Linked DNA regions of Homo sapiens: region 2 is linked to region 1. Evidence: promoter capture Hi-C in 16 types of primary human blood cells and fetal thymus (Javierre and others, 2016). All regions are on one chromosome and are shown on one strand. The core of a region is centred on a gene start or on the middle of the fragment in contact, and the rest is flanking DNA. Distances in the headings are between cores, read along the strand shown. Region 1 holds the start of PTP4A3 (protein tyrosine phosphatase 4A3). Region 2 holds the start of THEM6 (thioesterase superfamily member 6).

Region 1 (6,084 bases), core at 3,387-5,886:
CATCAGCGGTGCCCTTTGTCCCCCGTGTGCCTGTGGTGCAGCTGCTCCACTTGGCGCCAGCTCCTCGGGGCAGGGCTCGGGACTGTCCTGTTCCCAGTGGGCCAGAGCAGGCACACAGTAGGTGCTCCAGGGCTGTGGGCTCGGTGAGAGAGGAATGCTGGACGGGCTGCCCGGGGCCAGATTCCATACCACCTGATGACCTGGAGCTGCTCACCCCACTGGCACCATCACCCAAATGACCAGCACCCTCCCCTGCCCATTTACTGACCTTTCCCCAAAAAGGAGGCATGGCCAGCGTTCAAATTCCTGCTCTCCTCCCAGCAGTGACCCTGGCACGTCACTTCTCCCCTAGGGTCCTTCCCTGGCTCTAGGGCAGGACGGTAATATGAACACTTACCCGCCAGAGGTCTCAATCCTCTAGGATGAAGGGAGTTAAAATGCATCAAGTTTTACGTATGAGTCCATCACGGTCCTGACCAATGGCACCCACAGCCCAGATAATGGGGCCGGTTCTGGCTGTACCGCAATCACCAGGCACTGCCAAGGAGCCCCACCTTCACATGGCACGGGGTTACAGTCACGGCAGGGGTGGGGGTTACACATCAGGTTAGGCCTGCTTCCTCTGAGCCAGTGGCAGGGTTGGCGGGGGCAGGTGGCCAGGACAGGGTGGGAGAGGGGAGGCAGCCCCATCTGTCCCCAGCCAGGGTGGCCCTTGGCAGGCAACAGCAATGACTGTGCTGCATTTCCACTCCTTCTAGAAGCATAAGCCCTGACATGAGGGCACCCCTACATCTGGGGAAGACACCAGGAGAGGAGCCGGGGGGCATGGGAGCACCCCTACATCCCGGGAAGATGCCAGGAGAGGAGCCAGGGGACATCCCCACTGGGTAGATGAACGGGGGCTGCAGGAGGGAGGGGTGGCCCACGCACCTACCCCGGGTAGATGAACGGGGGCTGCAGGAGGGAGGGGTGGCCCACGCACCTTCCCCAGGTAGATGAACGGGGGCTGCAGGAGGGAGGGGTGGCCCATGCACCTATCCTGGGTAGATGAACGGGGGCTGCAGGAGGGAGGGGTGGCCCACGCACCTAAGGGGAAGTGGGGGTGCACTGGGCAATGGCCCCCAGTTCCCCTCCAGGAGGAAGGTAAACCTGAGGGCCCACTCTCAGGACCCCAGCTGAGCCCTGAGCCATGTGGTCATCCCTGACCCTCAGTTCCGCTTCCAAACCAGGAGGCTGCCACTAAAGCAGCCCAAGACTGAGTGGCACGTGCCTGGCGGGAAGCGATGCCCCACCTAGGGGTCCTTAGGGCCACACCCTTGGCTGGGAGGAACAGCCTGTCCTTATTTTCTGAACTGTCTTTTGTACAACAGCCTTGGCGCAGCTCAAAGGATAAGTGAGGTTCTCAGGGTCCTGACCTGAGGCGCCCCAAGGAGGGGAGACACGCGCACACTCTCTGCCAGGTGAACGCCTACTGGGCCATCGGAACCCACAGCTCGTGCCCCACCCACACTGGCACGGGCTGTGTCCACGTAGCCCTGATCCCGCTCGGCTAAAGAGCGCAGCTCTCAGCTGCCGTAGGTAGCTGCCAGGACCCTCCACCCTCTGCTCAGGCTCCTGGGTGGAAGGAAGCACCCGTCCCTGTCCCCGTCCCACCTTGGGGAGGCCCCCCTCTCTCCAGGGAGGCTGGCCTACCCGACTGGCAGGCGTGGGGCACACTCTGGGCCGCCCCCAACCGCACACACCCAACTCGCGGGGCGCCGAAGTCAGGCGGCGGCGATGCCAACCCGACCACGTAACTGTGCGAAGTGCAGTACCTCCTCCTGCAGCCCACAGCCACTCCCACCCAACTCTGAACTGTGCAGAGAGGACGGGGCTCATCGGCCCTCGGACCTTGCCCAGGTCCCTGCCTATGGGTCCTGCGAGCCGGTCCAGGTCAGAAGGAGGGATGGGAAGTCTTTTTTACCTCACACATGTTCACCCGTGTGACCAAGCTTCACCACTGTCCTGCCAGGAAGACCTGTCATTGCTCCCATTTTACAGGTGTGGAAACGGAGGGGCAAGAAACCAAGTATCCAGCAAGACACTGGGAGGCCAGGCCCTCCTGCCTCTAGCCCAGCCTCGGGCTGCTGCACTTGCTAGGAAACACCACTGCAGGCAGGGAGGGGTGCCAGGGACCAGAGGGAGTAGGTGACAGCAAGGGCGGCCAGGGTGGAGGTGGGGAGAAACGGTGCTCTCGAGGTGAGAAAGCGCCCTGGGGTGGTCTGGGACAGTGACCATCTGGTTACAGCCTTTGGTCAGATTTGGGACCTTCATGGAACAAGGCAAGCCCAAGGTCTTGGGGGGCGAAAAATCACCACTATCTGCCAGCCCCAGGCCCAGGAGCTCCCAGCTCAGCCCCTCTGGCCAAATGCCACCTGGACACCAGCCTGGTACACTTTCCACTTAACTCACCCTTTCGCCAGGACCTGCCAACCAGGGAGAGGCCTCCCCAAGCTGTATCACCGCCATCTGGATGTAAGTCCCTAAGGAGGTCACGTGCATAGGCATTGGGCACCAGCGGACACTCTGCCCACCCTGGCGGTGAGAGGGAGGGCTCACACCAGCTTATGCCCCCCTCTCAGTCTGACTGTGTGCACCTCTGCCCAAGTCCTCAGCCAGTAAAGTCACGTCTGTGTAGCTTGGGAGTAGTTACACCACAGAAATTGGCCAATGCCAATTCAGGATTTGGTTAAGCATCTGTTAAGCATGCCCTCATGTCATCTTTGAGCCCAGCCACCCATGGTGCCTCCAAGACCTCCTCGCCATCCAAACTGCCCACTTGTCTGAGAAAGCTGCCCACCTCCCGGCCTTCCTCCTGCCTCCCATGTCCAGTGCCTGACTGCATCAGCCAGCCACCCTCACCATGTTCTGGGCTGTTACTTGGGACAGAGAGGGGACCAGCTGAGGCCCCCAGCCTTACTCCAGTGGTCAGCGCAAGCTTCCGGGAGGAGGGCAAAGGCAGAGAGGAGCAGGCAGCTGAGGAAACCACCTGGAGGCTGCATCTCATCCCCGCCTGCATTTTCTCCCATCACGCCGACTGCCTGCGGGGGCCTGTCCGCAACCTGCCCCGCTCAGCCAGCCAGCCATGCCCCATCTCCAGGTCCAGCATTGGGCCTGGCACAGAGTAAGTGCTTGGAGAACACGTTGGGGGTGTTGAGGGGTGACCAGCTCCCTAGCGGGGCTATTTGGAAACAGCCCAGGAATTCCTACACAGGGCAGCTTCTCCTCCTTCGTAACCACAGTGAGGGGGGCCGGCGTGGTGATGGGGAGATCCCCAATGCCTAATTCCACTCAGGTGACAGGTTCGGGGCCCATTTACAGCAGCTCCAACGCCCCCTTTGCAGATGGGGACAACAAGGCTCTGCTTAGCCCCGCAGGCTAGGGGCTGCACCAACTCCACCTTTGTGGGCCTCAGTCTCCTCATCTGAGAAATGGGGTTAACGAACTTCTTGGGAGGATTGCAGGAACTCAGTGAAGCACGGCTCTGCACAGGGCTGCCAGGCGGCTTCTGTCTGTGCAAGGCCACAGGCACCCTGTGTTCAGTGACCTCCTCTGGTCTGCAGCCGAGGACACTGCTCCAACCTGGGAGCAGGGCCCCCAGGGTCCACAGACTAGGTGGATGCCCAACACCCACCATCGTGTGCGGGGCACACCCCAGAGCCCGCAGGCAGAGAGAGGGGGTGCAGCACGTGCCTTTCTGTCTTGGCTGAGGGTGCCCGGGCACACACTGTGACCAGCTAGCCTGGACCTCACGCTGCCCTTGGAGCCGCTATCACAGAGGGCCAGGGAAGCCTCCCTCATAAAGGGCTTCCCTCCGGGAACCGGCAGGGTGAAACTGCTCTGCCCACTTGGAGCTAAGCATGCCACCACCCCACCCCTGGGCCACCAGCTGCCCAGGGGCGTGTCAGGAGTCACCCGTTTAATCCCTGAGGCACGTGGATCAAGGCTGCTGACCTGATTCTACCGGGGTGTGCTTGGAGGGCTGAGGCGCCGCCCGAGTCCCAACACTGGTATGGTCTGAGGCGGACTCCACCCGGCCTGAGACCTGACGCTCTGCTTTCCCCTGACCTCCACTGACATCTACGACCCGCCCTGGAGGCACGGAAGGCTGTGGGGTTCCAGCCCCCCAAACTGTGCAGCTGAGGAAAATGAGCCGTGAATGGGGGCAGAGCCAGATCCTGGGCGGGACCCTGCGCAGGATGAACTCAGGGTAGGAGGTCTCCCGCGCACCCAGAAACGGGAGCGGGTCACCCCCTTCCAGCCAGGGGTGTTCTGTGGCTCGCCTGGGGAAACAGCGGCCTCCTGAGGCTCGGCCCCGGCACGTGGCAGCCTCCAGGCCCACGTTCCCGCCGGATCGGCCGCCAGGCGCAGGGTCCCGGGACGCGCGGGCAGGGGGAAGGCGGCGGCCCTCCCGGCTGCGCGGCCCCGAAGCCGTGCCCGGAGCGGGCGGCGGGCTCGCGCGCGGACGGCCCCCCACGCGCCTCCACAAAGCGCCGCGCGCCCCCGCCCCGAGCGGGCGCGGAGGAGACTGACCTGGCGGTCCGGGCGGCGCCGGCACGACGGGTGGAGGGCTCGGGACGCGCGCGCCCTCGCGCACAGGCGCGGCCGCGGCTCCACCGGCTTAGGGCGCGCGCCGGACCCGCTGGGTCACGTGGGGGCACGGCCCAATGGGAGCGCTCCCCACGCCGCGGCCGCGCGCCCGCCGCCCCCGAGGCCGCCCCTGGGCTGGGAGGAGGCGGCTCCGGTCGCGCGGGCGGCCTCGGGGACTGACCTTGGCTCCTGTGCCTGCCGGGCGCCTAGGCCAGGTCGGCCTGGGGCAGGCGGGCGTCGGAGGGGCAGTTTTGAAGCCCGAGCGAAGAGGCAGAGGGCGGGATGCGGACGAAGCCAGGGAGTTCACGAAACTTCTGGAGTTCTCAGTTTCCCCCTAAGTCGACTGGGGCTAGGTCCCGTGCCGCCAGGCGGGCTGGCTGAGGGGATGGGCTGGGGCGACAAGACGGCAGCCGCCTGGCCCGGGTACTTGGGGTCAGACCGGCTTCGAGGCCCCCGGACCGCCGTGTTATCAGGACGGGTAGGGAGCCCACGGGACGCGTGGTGCTCAGAAGAGCGGGGAGGCGTGTGGACGGGGCCTGCCCGAGCTGCACCACCGCCTGCCTCCAGGCTGCGAGGCCCGCCCAGGCGAAGGCGGCATCTCAGCCTCTAGCCCTTGGGGACCTTGAGGACGTCCTCTTATGGGTCAGCCGTTCCTAGGGAGGCTTGTGGCTCCAGTTACTGGAAAAACCAGTGCTGGTTCACGCAGGAGGCCCCAGTACAGGGGGAAACAGAGGCAAGCTGGGGTCTCCCAGGCGGCCTCACCCACCCAGCCCTGTTCCATGCCAGTCCCTGGACCCTTGGCCCAGTCAGATGTTCAACTGCTCCAGCCCTGCCTCCACTTCCCTGAAAGATGCTTTTCCACCCATCCACCCTCAGCAGCCAGAGGGACCCCGGGAAGATGGGAGTGAGAGCTGCCTTCGTCTGCAAAAGTCTCCAGACACCACCTCACTGGTGAAGGCCAGAGACCCTAAACTGTCCCAAGACCACCTGACTGGGCTGCCTCCCTGCCACCTGGCTGCCAGCCTCTCTCAGAGCGCCTGCAAGCTATTCCTCCAACCCAGAGTTTCCTTCCCAGCTAAAGGCCTTTGCACCTGCTGTTCCTTCTGCCTGGAAGTTCACCGCAGACTATCCCAGGGCCTCCATCCTTCCCATTGCATGGTCCCCATCAGCTGCCGCCGCCTCTGAGAGCTCAGTCTCCACTGGCCATCCTGTCTCTCAGCCCACTGCACTCTCCACTCTGCCAGAAAGTCCCCCAATCAGTGACAACACAGGTCACGGTCCACACCTCACCTGGTTTGTCCCCAGTGCCCAGCATCTGGCACCGAGCAGGTGCGTGCAAATCCTGGACAGGTGGGCAAGCTGATGGTGTCCAGAGGCCCCTGGTCCTTAAGGGCAGGGGTGGGGATGGCTCAGAGGACATAACCTTGCAGACCCGGGTTCAAATCTGGGCTCCTC
Region 2 (6,289 bases), core at 1-2,500, 1.3 Mb before region 1:
CCCAGGGCCCCAGGTGCCATGCTGCAGGGGCGGTTCTGCCCTGCTGGGAGGAGCGAGCCCTGGGAGGTGCATGGCCCTCCTCTCTCCAACTGCAGAAAGGCCAGAAGGCTTTCAGCTACTCGGCTCAATACCTCAACCCCAAACCCAGGTGACCAGAACCCAGCCCTTCAGCTCTAAGCTGTGTGAAAGGGGGGCTCAGGTCCTCGGGAACTCCTAGGAACCTCTTCTAACTGATCACCTCTCCAACCTATATTCAGGACCAAGGACCAGAGAGGTCAACACTCCAGCCACAGAACAGAGTACCAGGAGAGAGGAGAGGGGTGAACACGAAACCGTGAGGGGCCAGGTTAAGAAATGGCAGGAGGGAAGCACGCTAAGCCCGACTATGAAGAGTTGATTCGGGGACCCTAGGAACCCCCACGAACAAAGGCATCAGTGAGGAATGCCCCCGGTAGAGAGGGAGGGGCGGGAGCGGTAAGAGGCAGGACTCCAGCAGTATCCGAAAGAGGTGCAGGCAGCGGGCCTTCCCTAGGGGAGGGGGCCAGGGACTAGGAGGAGCCCCCGGAGGTCCCACAAAGGCCGTGCTCCGGGGCCAGGGGCGGGGGCCGCTCACCCTGCGCTGGCACAGGTGCTGCACGACGCGCTCGGGTGAGGTGCCCAGCAGGTGCTGCCGGAAGCGCAGCAGCGCGCACACGAAGCCGTCCCGCAGGCTGACAAAGCGCGCCTCCAGGTAGAACGCGCGGTCGTCCCAGCCCAGCAGGCGGGTGCGCACCTCGAAGGGCTCCAGCAGGCGCAGCGAGCGGCGGTGGCGCGCGCACGAGGCCGCCAGCACCGTGTGCGCCCGCAACTCCCTCAGCGCCCCGAGCACCCCGCAGCGGGTCAGGTGCGCGACGCGCGCAAAGTCGGCCTCGCGCAGGTAGCGCGCGTTGTTCATGTGCAGCAGCAGGTCCAAGTCCGAGGGCAGCACGCGGCCCGGGAAGCGCTGCTCAGCTAGCAGGTCACGGACGCGCGGCTGCAGCAGGCGCGCGCGCAGCACGGCGCACGGAAGGCGCACCAGGTACCAGACGTCCAGCAGCGCAAAGACAGCGAGCCCCAGGGCCAGCAACGCCACCAGCAGCCCCAGCATAGCGGCGGCGGCGGGCGCGGGGTCCTGCGGAGTCCGTGGCGCCGGTGCCGGTGTCCGCGGCGCTGGTTACGGTGCCCGCCAGGCCTCCTGGGAACTCACGAGCGCAGCGCGCCCGGAGCGAACCACAGCGCGAGGGCGGCCGAGGGGGAGGGGCCCGGAGCCCCGCCCACCGTGGCGCGACCTTCTCAGCGCCCTACGTGGTCCGTCCCGCCGTCCAGGCCCGCGCCACTTTCGCGTTCCCTGGGGCGGGGCGGGCGGCGCGCTGAGCGCCACAGCGGCACCTGGCGGCCGTGCGCGGCGCTGCAGGCGCGAGGGTGCACGCGCGCCCCGGCGTCTCCGCCTTCCCAGCAGCGCGAGACCCTCGCCAGGCTCTGAAGACGCGGCCTGGCCCTGGCCGTTCGGCCCTTCGTCTGAGCGCAAAGGCTCCAGCACCTCCGCGGCCGAAGCCGCGGGACTTTTCGTGGAAAATGGGACCCAGCCCGATCGCCAGCGGCGCTGCAGCGGACTCTGCGGGAACCTAGCTTCTGCTCCAGGACCTCCAGGGCCACCCCAGCTCGCAGGGCGTTCGCAGCGGCTCAGGGCGAATCACGCTCATGGTCCCCGTGCGCATTTTCAGCCCCAGCCGGTACCTCCTTACTCGCCCTCACGACATTCATTCCACCCCCTAAAGGTCCTGCCAACCCCAGGCTCTTCCCGAGCATTCCCGCCCTTCCTCCCTTTTGAAACCGGAGCAAATCACGGCCGGGCGGAAGCGGGGGAGCCCGGGTGAGAGTCAGTGACTCAGCTGCGGACTCCAAGTGTCGCCGGAGGCCCTGGGGCGCAGGCCCAGCGGGCTGTCGCACAGCTCGGCTGTCCTGTGCCCCTTCCTGACGAGGCTGGGGAGGAAAGGCGGCCCAGAGAAGGCCGGACCAGCTCTCCCCGTCAGCCCCAGGCTCTCGAATGACAGCGGATGCCAGCGACCGGGGATGGGGTCCCGGAATTGCTGGGTTAAACAAGCTCCGGATTCAGGCCTGGGCCTGGGCTGGGGTTCCAGGGTTCTGGACCGCCCTCAAAGAAGGAGCTCCCTGGGGCGGCACCTGGCTCTGCTTGATAGCCCCAGGGACAGGGAGCTCACTACCTATCAGGGCAGCTCCCCCAGTGCCGAGACCAGCTCGGTCCTGGAGACCCTAACCCAGCGGTGCTAGAGGAATTAAAGATACACACAGAAATATAGAGGTGTGGAGTGGGAAATCAGGCGTCTCACAGCCTTCAGAGCTGAGAGCCTCCAACAGAGATTTACCCACGTGTTTATTCACAGCAAGCCAGTGATAAGCACAGTTTCTACAGATTATAGATTAAAAGTACCCCTTAGGGAAACAAAGGGATGGGCCAAAATAAAGGGGTGGGTTTGGCTAGTTATCTGCAGCAGGGGCATGTCCTTAAGTCACAGATGGCTCATGCTATTGTTTGTGGTTTAAGAACGCCTTTAAGCGGTTTTCTGCCCTGGGTGGGCCAGGTGTTCCTTGCCCTTATTCCGGTAAACCCACAACCTCCCAGCGTGGGCATCATGGCCATCATGAACATGTTACAGTGCTGCAGAGATTTTGTTTATGGCCAGATTTTGGGGGCCTATTCCCAACACCCTAGCATTGCTCACACTTGTCCCTGAAGTGTCACCTTGTCGTAGCTGGGCTCTGAGCCCTCTGCCCCAGGGAGGGGTGGCCTTTTGGGCTGAAGGGACTGAGGACATAGCCGTTGAGCCTGTTGGCCATTGCTCAAAGAATGCAGCCTCCTGGTCACCCATGTTGTCCCCTTGCCAACAAAAAGAGTGAAACACTGTGCAATGTTTGAAGAGATTTATTCTGAGCCAAATCTAAGTGACTGTGGCCTGTCACACGGCCTCAGAAGATCCTGAGAACTTGTACCCAGAGTGGTCAGCCTGCAACTGGGTTTTACAAATTTTAGGGAGACATAAGACATCAATGAATACTTGCAGGATGGACATTGGTTTGGTCCAGAAAGGTGGGGACAACTGGAAGTGACAGAGGGACTTCTAGGTCATAGGCAGATTCAAAGATTTTCTGATTGGCAATTGATTGAAAGAGTTAAGTTGACCGGGCATGGTGGGCCATTTCTATAATCCTTGCCATGGGGAGGCTGAGGACCATTTGAGCCCAGGAGTTAGATACCAGCTTGGGCAACATAGAGAGACCTCACTTCTCCAAAAAAAAAAAAAAAAAAAAAGTTATTTTTTAAAGACTTAGCATTAATAGAAAGGAATGTCTGGTTAAGATAAGGGGTCGTGGAGACCAGTGTTTCATGATCAGATGAAGCCTCCAGGTAGCAGGCTTCAGAGAGAATAGATTGTAAATGTTTCTCATCAGACTTAAAGAGTCTGTTCTCTCAGTCTTTAAGGGGTGTGTTGATGTTACTGCTGGTCAGCTGGGCCTGAAATCCAAAGGGAGGAGGGTACAGTGAGGCATATCCAACACCCATTTCCTGTCGTGGTCTGAACTAGTGTTTCAGGTTAACCCTGGACTGCCCTTGGTCAAGAGCAGGGGTGCATTCAGATGGTGGGGGTGCTTAGAATTTCATTTTTGGTTTACACCACTGTGTCCTCTCCTGCCAGGGGAGGGACCCAGAGCTGGAGGCTTAGCCCTGGAGATACCGGTGAAGATGGATGAATGAGAAACCAGTTGGAGCTTCCAAGGTCTCTACCCACCCTCCAGACCTCCTCTGCTCCTGCCCCTGCCCATTCATTCCCAACTTCTGCTCTCCCAGCTCCCCTCCCACCCACATGCTGTTCCCTCCTCTTCCATCTTCCGCTTCCTGGGCCCAGAGACTGGGCAAGATCCCCAGGGCTCTCCTTGCACAGCGAACCTCTCCCAGGGTGCATAGCCTTGCTGCAATCTTACACAGGGAATACATAAGCAAGGAATACTTCTGTCCCTCTTGGACTCTGAAGCCAGAAGGCCAGGGCCTGGTTGGCCTCCTAACTGCTGTGTCCCAGGGCCAGAGCAGTGCCAGACACCCAGCAGTCTTAGCACCCACGAAAGCTGGAGGGACCCACACCTTCCCCATCACTCAGTTGCATCAGTCTAACGCAATGGATTTGGGCAGCTTGTGGTGGTTCACTGGCAGTTTATTGGGGGACTTGAAGGAGTCAAGGTCAAGTGGGGGACTTCTGGGTGCCAGACCTGGCCCTTCCTTGGCCTGGGCTTGGGGTGTCCAAGCCCACAGAGCCATGCAGGGGGAAAGAGCTAGGCAAGCAGGGTGGTTGAGGAGGTCATTAGCGTGGCCTCGAGGGAAAACAATTCCAAGAGGAGCCCAAATTCGAATGTCCCCTGGTGTCATTGAGAATGGAGAGATTTAGGTTATGAATTGTGCAGTTGGTGGGTAGCAAGCCAGGGTCCTGAAGATAGTCTGCATATCCCCTGGTGTCATTGAGAATGGAGAGGTTCAGGTTATGAATTGTGCAGTTGGGGGTATCAAGCCAGGGTCCTGAAGATAGTCTGCATATCCCCTGGTATATATCATTTATATAAGGATGTTACTTAACTATTGCTGTCTTCCAGAGGCAGCTTCTTGAACAAATACTTGAGGTCCTCTATAGGTTTACGGGAGTAGACTGTTTTCTCCAAGCAGGCCTGTCGTCCATCAGGAGAAGCAAAAGGTTTTATTCTAGAGACAAGTCCTTCCAACTGTACAGCTGATGGAGTAGCCAAGGAAACCTGGTATGGACCCTTTCATTTCTCAGTGAACTAAGCCTCTGGGCTTCCTTTTCGCCATGTCTTGAGTAGGACCTGTGCACCTGGGCTAGCAGGGAAATGATCTGAAACTCCATGACCCGGCTGAGGTCACATCTTATTATCATATTGCAAGATGGCCTGCTGAACTTGTCCCAAGTTAATGATGTATTTTACCACCTGATTTAAATCTTCGTCTAGAAGAAAGTGGCTAGGAAGCGGCTAGCAACAGGAGGAGTGGGTTGGGCAGATTCATTCTGTCCCAGCTTCCTAGGATGGAATGAGCAGTCCCTTTCCCAGTGCCCCTCCTTCCTATGGTAGGAACATGGGTTACAGGAGCCAAGGGGCCAAGCCGCTCTGTCTGGGCCACCTGTTTGGCAGCTTCACCAGCTCAGCTGTCTCCTCGGCTGGTTAAAGAACTGCCTGCTGGGGCCCTTCATGGTGCATGACAGCTATCTGGGCAGGGAGCTGAACTGCCTCAAGAAGGGACAGAATCACTTTTTTATGTTTTATGGGGGAGCTCCTAGGAGTCCACAATCTCCTCTCTTTCCAGACAGCTGCATGAACATGGAGCACTAGGAATCCATACTTAGAGGCAGGATATACATTAAGTATTTTCCTTCCCTTAGTTAAAGAGCCATGACTAGGGCTTTGAGCTCTGCTTCATGAGTGGAAGTGCTTGGGGCAAGGGCTTTTGCTTCTACAATGTGGTTCAAGCCAACAGCAGCATAGCTTGTCTTTTGGATGCCATTTTCTACAAAGCTGTTCCCAGATGTAAATAATTCTTTATCTGTATTTTCTAAGGGGGAGTCCTGCAGGTCCATTTGTCTAGAATAGGTCTGCTCTAAAGTCTCCACACAAGTGTGTTTGTGTCTCTGAAGTGGGCGAGGGAACCAGGGCAGCAGGATTCAAGGTCTAACACACCTTTAAGGTTCAGTCGAGGGTGTCTAGCAGCAGGGCCTGCTATAAAGTTAGGCTTCCCCAGCCAGTGGTGCTCTTTTATTTCTAACACATTCCAGACCTGGTGAGGAGTGTCAACCTGAAGGGGTTGGCCTCATGTGAGTTGGGAGGCCTCTCTGACCAGGAGGCTGGTGGCCACCACTGCCCTAAGTCAGCTTGGCCTTCCCTGGGCTACTGGGTCTCATTGCTTTGAAAGTAACCACTGGCCATTGGATGGACTCCAGATTCTGAATTAGGACATCCAGGGCTGGCCTGAACCTCTCCTATACATATAGGAAGAAAGGCTTCTACAATTGTGGGAGTCCTAGGTCAGGGGCCTTCCTAACTCAGATTTTAGGGTTTCATATGCTTGCTGACAGGCTTCTACCCAGTGGGATAATTGGTTTTCTCCACTCTTGAGTGGGTTTAAGTATGAGGCCAAAGTTTAGGATCTAAACCCAGCAGAAGCCAGCCATCTGCAGAAATCCGTGCAGCTCTC

The links. Contacts are between HindIII fragments. The CHiCAGO score rates a contact against its expected background, and 5 or more counts as called.
Region 2: a contact is called between the fragment with the promoter of THEM6 here and the fragment with the promoter of PTP4A3 in region 1, in 2 of 17 cell types (endothelial precursors and erythroblasts). The highest score is 5.7, in endothelial precursors.

Annotation. Positions count from the first base shown.
Region 1 is chr8:141,390,573-141,396,656 of GRCh38, reverse strand. It overlaps PTP4A3 (protein tyrosine phosphatase 4A3), which reads right to left and starts at 4,636. Exons shown (of 6, transcript NM_032611.3): 1 at 4,573-4,636. ASTILCS (antisense transcript of PTP4A3, liver carcinoma survival associated) reads left to right here and starts at 4,036. Exons shown (of 2, transcript NR_187488.1): 1 at 4,036-4,249; 2 at 5,506-6,084. RefSeq lists an enhancer at 4,944-5,564. The HindIII fragment of the contact is 6,687 bases long and covers 2,980-6,084 here.
Region 2 is chr8:142,722,184-142,728,472 of GRCh38, reverse strand. THEM6 (thioesterase superfamily member 6) reads right to left here and starts at 1,250. Exons shown (of 2, transcript NM_016647.3): 1 at 614-1,250. The coding sequence starts at 1,126. It overlaps LNCOC1 (lncRNA associated with ovarian cancer 1), which reads left to right and starts at 1,500. Exons shown (of 3, transcript NR_038925.1): 1 at 1,500-1,751. RefSeq lists silencers at 505-754, 1,055-1,494 and an enhancer at 1,525-1,744. The HindIII fragment of the contact is 9,584 bases long and covers 1-6,289 here.